Regions from separate parts of the Homo sapiens genome. Here region 2 is linked to region 1. Evidence: promoter capture Hi-C in 16 types of primary human blood cells and fetal thymus (Javierre and others, 2016). All regions are on one chromosome and are shown on one strand. The core of a region is centred on a gene start or on the middle of the fragment in contact, and the rest is flanking DNA. Distances in the headings are between cores, read along the strand shown. Region 1 holds the start of LRRC32-AS1 (LRRC32 antisense RNA 1). Region 2 has its middle 32 kb from the start of LINC02757.

Region 1 (4,442 bases), core at 926-3,425:
AGCTCGGCAGGCCCCGCTGGTTTGGTGCGGTGAGTCCTGCCCCGGCTGTGCCAGGGTGAGGGAGGGCCAAGCCCAGGAGGATTTGTCTGAGACATTTCCAAGCAGACTGTTTGTCACGTCTTCTGAGAATGACTTTCAGTCTCTCTGAAAATGAAAAGCTTAGGACCAGAAGAGAGAATTGGAGCTGTACGAGTGTGTCTCGGATCTGGTGTTGTTAGGTGGGCCACGGCGGCTCCAGCAGGGTCTGGTTAAGGGGTCCAGCCCAGCACTGGACCATTCCGTCTCCTGCTCTGGACTTGCCCTCTCCCTTCCTGGCACTCTCATGTTGCATACCCTGACCCCAGTGCTGCTCTAAGCACCGTCCCTGCCCAGCCCCACTTCTCCATCGCAGCCCCACCTTGGCTGCTGAGCCAGGAGCTAAAACCTTAGATATCTGGTTCTGTTTTGCACCCAGCTTGGCAGATGTGGATTTGAATCCAAGCCTTGTGTCTGCCCCTATGTGACAGCTCTATATTTTATCCCCGTTTTATAAAAGAGGAAACTGAAGTTCTGAAAATCTCCTTCCAGGGCCCCAGCTAACTAATGCCATAGGTGAGATTCAAACCTTCATCCTTCTGTCTCCAGGGCCTGATCTTTACCACTGCAGGGGCTGCAGGCCGTTAAGTGGACAGGAAGTGGCCCCACATAGCCCGAGCAGGGTCTGGAAGCATCCTGTGCTGTGCACACCTGCTCTCTCCTCTCTCCCAGGCAGGCAGCTGCAGGCGCTCTCCTCCTTCTCTGCCTGTTTCCCTCCTCCCTTCCTTTCCACCCTGGTGTGGGTTCTCCTGTTCTCTCTGTGCTCTTGCATTCTCTCATTCCCTTTTCCTCTATTGAGCAGAGCCTGGAGTTTGAGACTATGGAATCCAACCTCCCCATTGCACAGATGGGGAAACTGAGGCTTAGGAAGAGAATGAAACTTGTGGAGAGCTTATACAGAGCCTCTGGGGGAAAAAAGAGCCCTTATTTGTGGGGTGAGATTGGGGGTTGGACCAGAGTGATGTCCTCTCTCAGCTATCACATCACAAGATAATGCTGGCTCCAAACTTCCTTTCTGTGCCTCATCATGCAAGGATCTTTTTTCCCTCTTACAAAAACAGGTAAAAAGCCTCACCCAGATGACCCCCATCCCTCATACCATGGAGTCATGAGCTGTCTGGGAAGAATGGACGTGCTGGGACCAACTCAAGACCTTGTTTTGCTGTCTTCATCATCTTACCTGTGCTTGGCCCACAGTCTGGCTCATGATGTGGGCTCAGTAATGTGCGAGAAAGTGAAAATGCCACTCTCTCCACCCCATTTTACAGAGGAGAACACCAAGGCCCAGAGGAAGTTAAGGGAGAGTCAATGGGCAGAGCCAGGGCTAGGCCCTGGTGGTGTGTGGAGCACCCAGGCAGACCCAGTCCTGGTTGGGATCACACCCACGGGTGCTACTGCACGTAACACTCCTCCTTAGGCCTGGAGGCCAAGGTGTGGGTCCCCACGCCTGATCTTTGAAAACACTACACAGGGCTGCTGTCACTTCCCAGGGCCCAGGCCTCAGCCCAGGCCTCGGGACCAACTCTTTGTATAACCTACCTGAATGTATTAAAAACTAATTTTGGAGAAGCAGTGTGGCTGCCAGCTTCCTCTTTGCAATCCGCTTCATTGCGTCCACTAGAACCCTGCCGCTCAATCCCATTACGGTCGTTCAATCATCATGGCAAATCCCTGGGGACACTGAGACTCTGGGCCAGCACCACCCTGGACCTTGAAGCCGCAGCCACTAGCATGGCCCCTGCTACACCTCTTGCCCCACACTCAACAGGCGACTGTGCTCCCCACCCCAGGGCTGAGAGGCTGAGGGCTTCCGTTTGTTTCCTTCCTGCTACAGCTACAGGCCCCCTCCCCTTCTCTGTGCTCAGCCCTCTGTGCCCTATCTCAGAGGCTGCACTGCCCCTCCTCCTTGGGGTCCCCAGCCCCGTCCTCTCTCCCTTACCCCGTCATGCTCTCTTCTGCCTCCAGCCTCTCCCTGTTTACGTCTTCCTCTCAGACTTCAGCTGGACTCAAGTCTTGTCCGTCTTAAAAATAGTGAGAAGCCCCTCAGCCACTTTCCCCTTCGTCCTCCCACTCTTCACAGGCCAGGTTCTTGGTAAAGTCACTTCCCTTCCCGCCCCTCCCGTTCTCAACCCGCCTGGAGCTGCCTTCAGCCCCTCCCAGCTCCATGCTGCCCTTGCTAACAGCGTCAAGGGTATCCTTTGCCAAACTCAGCACGCTTTTCAGACCTCCTCTCCCTAGGCCCTGTGCAGCAGGCCCCCCACCCATACCCCTGCTGGGCATGCTCTCCCCACAGCTGTGATCCCACACAGGAAGCCATCTCCTCCCTCCCAGGCCACTCCTTTTCAGGCCACTCTTTGCTCATCTTCCTTGAGCCAGCTTTAAGTGGTGATGGCCAGGGCTCCATCCTAAGCCCTTTTCCCTTGGGAACACTATGGCCTCATTGCTGTAAACACCCCATTGCTCTGATGGCCCACATCTCTGTCTCCAGCCCCACCTCTCCTGAAAGTCCAATTCTGCTACCCAGAGGCCTTCCCAGGTAGAGGGCTAAAGGTCCCCAGGGACTGGAGAATTCAGTGATCAGCCAGGCTGCAGATCAAGGTTGAACTTGGAAGAAAACCACACCTGGTTCCTGGCTTGGAGTTGGAGGGTGAGTGTCGGGTGTGGGACAGAAGCAGCCTCACCTGGGTAGGGGAGCACTGAGAGGCGTGACAGGCCAGGGCAGAGCATGCAGAGCAGGGGGTGCTTATTCCTCTGGCCCTCACACCTTCCATTTCGCCCTGTCAGCAGCCTGGCACTGCGCCTTTGCCCTTCCCTTCCCTGACTGCCTCTCCCCCAAGCTCCTGCTCAGTGATGCTTCTCCTGCCCACCCCGAGTCAGCCTGGACCCCTCCCCTTGGCCCTGCAGCCCCTGGGCCCAGCGTTGGCAGCTCTGCCTCCTGGAGATTCTTCCGTTTCTCTGGTCCGTGCCCTCTCACCTCCCCATTCCTGCTCCTGGCTCCCAGTCTGCAAAGGGAAATTCTAAACACCTATTTCATGGGGTAGGGCTGGGGGAGAAAGGAGAGAGCCCCACCCCCTGGCACACGATAGGTGCTCCGTGAAGGCCTAAGGGGAAAGCAGGAGCTTGGGCTGAGCTCGCCTAGGGTCTGCGGGCCTCTGCTCCAGCAGGGAGCCCAGCAGGCCCCTGACCCCTTTTCCTGACAAACAGGGAGTTTGCTCACCTGGCCAAGACCCCCGGTGAGGCAGAAATTCCTGTTTTCAGCCAAACGTGGACACAGCAGCCAACTAGGTCATCAGAACATCCAGCTTCCCGAGCTCTTAGCTTGCAGGGAGAGGGGAGGCCCTGCCACTCCCAGGTCACAGTCAGCCTGAGGTGCAGGGCCCAACTCCTGGGGTTCCATGCGCTGGCGTGGCACTCCACCAGGAACGGGTCCCGGGACGCGCCAGCAACTCACCCTCTCAGACCCACAGGCTGGCCACATCCTCCAGGATCTGGGACCCACCGTCTGTGTTCTGTGCCCCTGTCCTTCAGGCAGTTCACTGAGCCCATGAGGCCCATCTCTCTCCCGCCACCTCTCACAACATGCTCAGAGATGGCCATTGTTGAGCACTTCCGGGCGGGCCCATGCTGAGCACTGGATGTGGATTGTCATGTTTAATTCTGACAGCCGTTGAAGAGATTTCTACTGTTACCATCCTCATTTTAGAGAACTGAGCTCCAGCGATGAGACTTGAACCCAGGCTGTCCCACTCTGGAGCCAGCAGTCTTAACCATTAGGCAGCACTGCCTCCTGCACCTCTCCCGCCTCCTCTGCCGGAACCAGCTCACCCCCCCACCCACCTGCACAATCTCCTTCACCACCCTCGCCTGTATCACCTCCATCACCTTCTCTGGGGAGACTGTCTGGATTTCTCTCCTCCAGCTGCCCACAGGTCTGGGCTGCCCTCAGCATTGGGTGTCTGCCTGACCCACCCACCAGGCCAGGAGGTCCTGGGGGGAGGTCCTACCTGGAGTCCTATCTGTCCCCAGGGCCTGTGAGCCAACACAGACTAAAGCCAGCTCAGAAAAGGTTTTCTGAGTGAATGGCCCCTGTCTTCCAGGACTCAGAAGCTTGTGGAGTTGAGACAAGCCCTCAGAGAGTGTGGTGAGGAGGCTTTTTGAACAGACCTAGGGGACACAGAGAGGACAGGGGAATGCAGACTGTGGGCTGCCCACGGCAGCAGGGGCCAGTGGGGAGGCAAAGAATCCTCTCTGACCACCCTCCATTCCCTGCAGCTTCCTCAGGCCTCTAGGACCCCGTCTTATCTTTGTCCTCCCCCCCTCCTTTGCTCCCCCTCGTCTCCCATTCTTCTCTTCTTGGTCATCTCCCC
Region 2 (4,357 bases), core at 1,238-3,737, 59 kb after region 1:
TATTCTGTCTTTTTGATGCACCGTAGTTTACTAAGCCAATCCCCTCTTACTGGATATTTAGGTTATTTCTAAATTTTTTATATATATATATATATATATATATATACACACACACACACACACACACACACAATAGAAATACATTAATATATAAATATAATATATTAATATTAATTTAATATAATATTTAGTGTTAATATTAATATCTTATATTTCTATATCAATATAATATAGAAATATATCATTATAATAATATATTTCTACTGTTAAATGTATTATAAACAATAGAAATTATATCAGTATTAACTGTGATGAATGTCATTGTGTTATTTGAATGCTTTTCTTCAGAGGCGGGAGTGGGGCTGAGCCAACTCTGTGGATAATCTGCCCATGCCAGCCCCGCTCCCAGCCTCAAGCGCCTGTTTCCCTTCTCTCCTCTCCGTCTGTCTACCCAAGGGCTTCTTCCAGCACCAAAGGACCTTGTTCAGCCTGTGCAGGGATGTGCCAGAGACCCAACACCCTCACGGGCAATCCTCAATCTCAGGGAATGAAAAGTGGACAAACACCCCAACGTCCAGCTCTTGAGTTTGAGATTCTGATGATGTGTGTTCTATACTCCAGCTCCTAGGGTGCCCAGCAGGATGGAGCCCAGGTGCCCACAGTGGTAACCCGCTCATCGAAGCCACCTTCCTGGGTTTTCTCCCTCCCTTTCCCACTTCTCCGTTTCTCACTGTTGCCTGGCATCACCTCCCGAATGAACTACCTGCACCCAAGCCCTTGGGTCAAGGTTGGCTTTGCAGGGATGAGATTTAGGACAGGAGTTGTGGATACTTTCTTTCAAAGGCTCAAAACCACCTGCAGGAAAGGGACTATATTAGCTCAAACTTCTTCTCAAACCATTTTGTGTTTATTTCCTCCAGAAACTCCTCTCAAACTTCACAATACAGGATGGCAGAGAGAACACAGGCCTTGGATACAGGTAGCCCCCAAATCAATCCCCAGCACTAGCCTTGGGGAAGTCGCTTCACTTTTAAGAGCCTCACTTTCCTCATCTGAAAATGGGCCAGCCGGGCTATCTGTTGGGCTACATAGAGCCTGAGGCCTGAAAGGGAGCTACCATCCCCCTGCCTCCTTCCTGCCTCACTTGCTCCCCACCCTTCCCTGGCCCACCACCTTGGCACCTGCCTCCTCTCTGTGGCTGGCCTAGTGAGCCTGAGGTCAAAGGCCACATCCCTAACTCTTTCAGGTCCTTTAACAACTGCTGTTTACTACAAACCAAGAGCTGTGCAGAGCGCCATGCCTCGATGACATCCCTACAGCTCTATGAGGTGGGCGCGGTGATTACGCCCATTTCATAAGTGAGGAAGTTGAGGTGCAGACAGGAGGGGCTTACCCCAGCCACACGGTGAGCACGAGGCAGCGCCCGGACTCACCTCCAGGTCTCTCTGACTCCTGAAGCCATGCTCCTCAGGACCACAGAGGCTGCCTCCTGCCCGCAGAACCCTCTCCAGAGGAGAGGGGATTCCTTGCGGGTGACTCAGGGCCTGGGGCAAGGAAGCCACATCCCTGGGGTCTGCTGGGAAGGAGAAAGTGACGCCAGGGTAATTCCCATACAGCTATGAGGTTCTTAGCAGCTGGGGGAGGGGGCCGCAGGCTTTGTTGGCTACCCTCATGGTGGGGGCAGCAGGGAGGGTCCCTTAGCTGAGTCTAAGCTTCCTGGGAGGCTATGGGATGTGCGGGAAAGGGTGGGGAGCGGGTGAGGCCACAGCGAGTGTGTTCTGCAGCCTGGGGCCACCAGGGGAGCAGACATTCTTCAGCAGCTGCTGGAAATCCCAGGGGCTGCTTTTCCTGGGAGCCACCAGGAAGATGCCCTGGAAGTGGCCTTTCCAAGGTTCTGGAGCAGGGCCATCCAATAAAACAGAATGTGAGACTCGGATGTAATGACATTTCTCCAGTAGCTACATTAAGAAAGTAAAAAGAAACAAGTGAACTTAATTTTAATAATATATTTAACTTAATATATCAAAATATTATCCTTTCAACATGTAATCAGTATTAAAAATTATGAATGTTGTATTTCATTTTTTTTTTTTTGTATTGTTGAAACCTGGTGTGTCTTTTCCACCCACAGCACAGCTCGTTTCAGACCAGCCACATTTCAGATGCCCAGTAGCCGCGTGCGGCTGGTGGCTACTAAGCTGGAGCGCACAGTTAGAGAGACCTCTAGGGGTGACTTGAGGATGCTGAAGGAGCCAAGGGGCAAACCTCAGTGAGTGGTGCCAGGACCCAGAGGTCACAAGAGGGTCCTGGGACCAAGTGTCATGTATCATTTAGTCTTCTCAACACCACCCAAGGCAGCATGATCACCCCTGTTAGGTAGATGAGGGAGTCAACTCAGAGGAGCCGGGTGGCTGGCACAAAGTCTCCTAGCAGGATGGGAGCTAGTCACCCCCCAGCACTGAGATGATGCTGCAGCCCACCCTACCCCAGGGGCACAGAGGAGCAAAGGAAGGCCCCCCACCCCAGGACTGCTGACCTCACACGTCTTCCCAGCCCCAGGCTTGCCCAGTGAGGGTTGGCACATTTAGGGGAGTCCCTCAGCCACCTTTCTTCATGCAGGAGTCAGGGAGGAAGTGGGCAGGCAGGCAGGTGGGTAGCAGCAGCCTCTTTCTCCTTCATCTTGCCCTGTCACAGACTGGTGTGGGTGGTGCCAGGTGAGCCCACCTAGAACGTGGCTTTTCCCCCTCCCCATTCCCATGGACACACGCATGTGCATGGGTCACAGGTGCTGCCTCTGGCTGGTCCACATTAACCCACACAGCTTCCCACCCTGGCTGCCCCTCACCCCAGCTGGTCCACGTGTCCACACCACCCAGAGCAGCACCGTTCACATCCACTGACTCAGCCAAGATTTCCTGAGGGTCAGCCTGGCAGGAATTTTGCCCATTCTACAGATGAGGACACGAAGGTCCAGAAAGGGGTGGGACTGGGTTCCCTGACTGCTGCTGGGCCTTGGTCCATGGCATCCACTGGCTCTCACTGGTCAAGGCAAGGAAGGCCCCTGGGAGGGGCACAGCATTTGGTGGGTACAGAGGAGGAGGTGGGTTTGCAGGGCTCAGGGCCTGACCATGGGCTCTGAAGGCAGAGGACAGAGTCTGTACAGGGGATTAGACATGGCCACTGGGTCCAGTTATGGAAACAGCCGTCCCCGCTCCCCTGCCACTGGGGTGCTCTGCCCGACCGGAGGGGGAACCAAGCTTGCGTCTCCCGCACTCATGAAGGGAGCACCTCTAGTTCCCAGGGCCAGATGGAGTGAGGGCAAGAGTTGGGGAGGTCTAATTTGCATCCAGGTTTCTGGTTTGAATACTAAGCAGATGGATGGTGGTGGCATTTGCTGGGATGTGTTGTGGGGAGCACATGGGGGAGGCTGAGTTGGGGTTGGGCAGTTTAAGTCCTGGGGGAGATACTGGGTAGAGAGCCTGGGCAGGGAGGGCCTGGGAGGCCTCCATGGAGTGGGCTACAGTGTGGGAAGGGGCAGTGACCAGGAGGGTGCCTTCCCAGTGAGCCTTCCCAAACCGCCCTGTTTAAAAGTCCACCATTCCACACTCCCTATCCCCCTCTGTGCCTCAGTTTCCCTGTGGAACGTATACCATGGAACATACTATTAACCTGTCACTCACCTTCCTTATTGTTTGTTCCCCACGTGGAGGAATGGTGTCTGTTGTTTGCTTGCTTGCTTGTTTGTTTGTTTGTTTGTTTCTCTGCTGGGCCCTGTGCTTGGAGCATTGCCTGCCTCAAAGGTGCATAAATGATGAATGCCTGAAGAGCTGAGGGCTCTGGATGGAGGATGGAATGGGGAGGTGGAGGTGGGGATCGGCATTTAAGAGGTGGCTGAGCAACAAGTTCCAGCCAGCGAGGCCACCGTGCTCACGGGAGTGACTTCCCAACCCTGGCTGTACTCATCAGTAAAAAGGAGATGGATCCATTTGCCAGGGCTGCCATAGCACAGTGCCACACACTGGGCAGAAACGACAGGGAGGTGTCCTCTCAGAGTTCTGGAGGCTGCAGCCCAAGGTCCAGATGTCACCAGGGGCTTCCTCCCGAGAGCTGAGAGGAAGCGCCCATCCTGCGCCTCTCCCTGCCTCCTGGTGCTCGCTGGCAGTCCTCCGCGTCCTGTGGCCTGTGAGAGCATCACTCCAGTCTCTGCCTCCGTTTTCACACAGGGTTCTCCCTGTGTGTCTGTCTCCAAATTTCCCCTTCCTACAAGGACAGTTTTATTGGACAAAGGCCTACTCTGATGACCTCATTTTACCTGGATGACCTCTGTAAAGATCCCATCTCCGAAAAGGTCACATTC

What was found. The method cuts DNA at HindIII sites, captures the fragments that hold promoters and counts their contacts. A CHiCAGO score of 5 or more calls a contact.
Region 2: a contact is called between a fragment that was not itself captured here and the fragment with the promoter of LRRC32-AS1 in region 1, in 1 of 17 cell types (megakaryocytes). The highest score is 7.1, in megakaryocytes.

What each region holds. Positions count from the first base shown.
Region 1 is chr11:76,654,729-76,659,170 of GRCh38, reverse strand. It overlaps LRRC32-AS1 (LRRC32 antisense RNA 1), which reads right to left and starts at 2,175. Exons shown (of 3, transcript NR_199061.1): 1 at 2,015-2,175. It overlaps LRRC32 (leucine rich repeat containing 32), which reads left to right. Exons shown (of 3, transcript NM_001128922.2): 3 at 1-1,647. The HindIII fragment of the contact is 4,024 bases long and covers 161-4,184 here.
Region 2 is chr11:76,596,571-76,600,927 of GRCh38, reverse strand. No RefSeq gene overlaps it. Among named protein-coding and RNA genes, the nearest start is that of LINC02757, 32 kb to the left of the region's middle. RefSeq lists a silencer at 2,240-2,319 and an enhancer at 2,950-3,601. The HindIII fragment of the contact is 1,545 bases long and covers 1,715-3,259 here.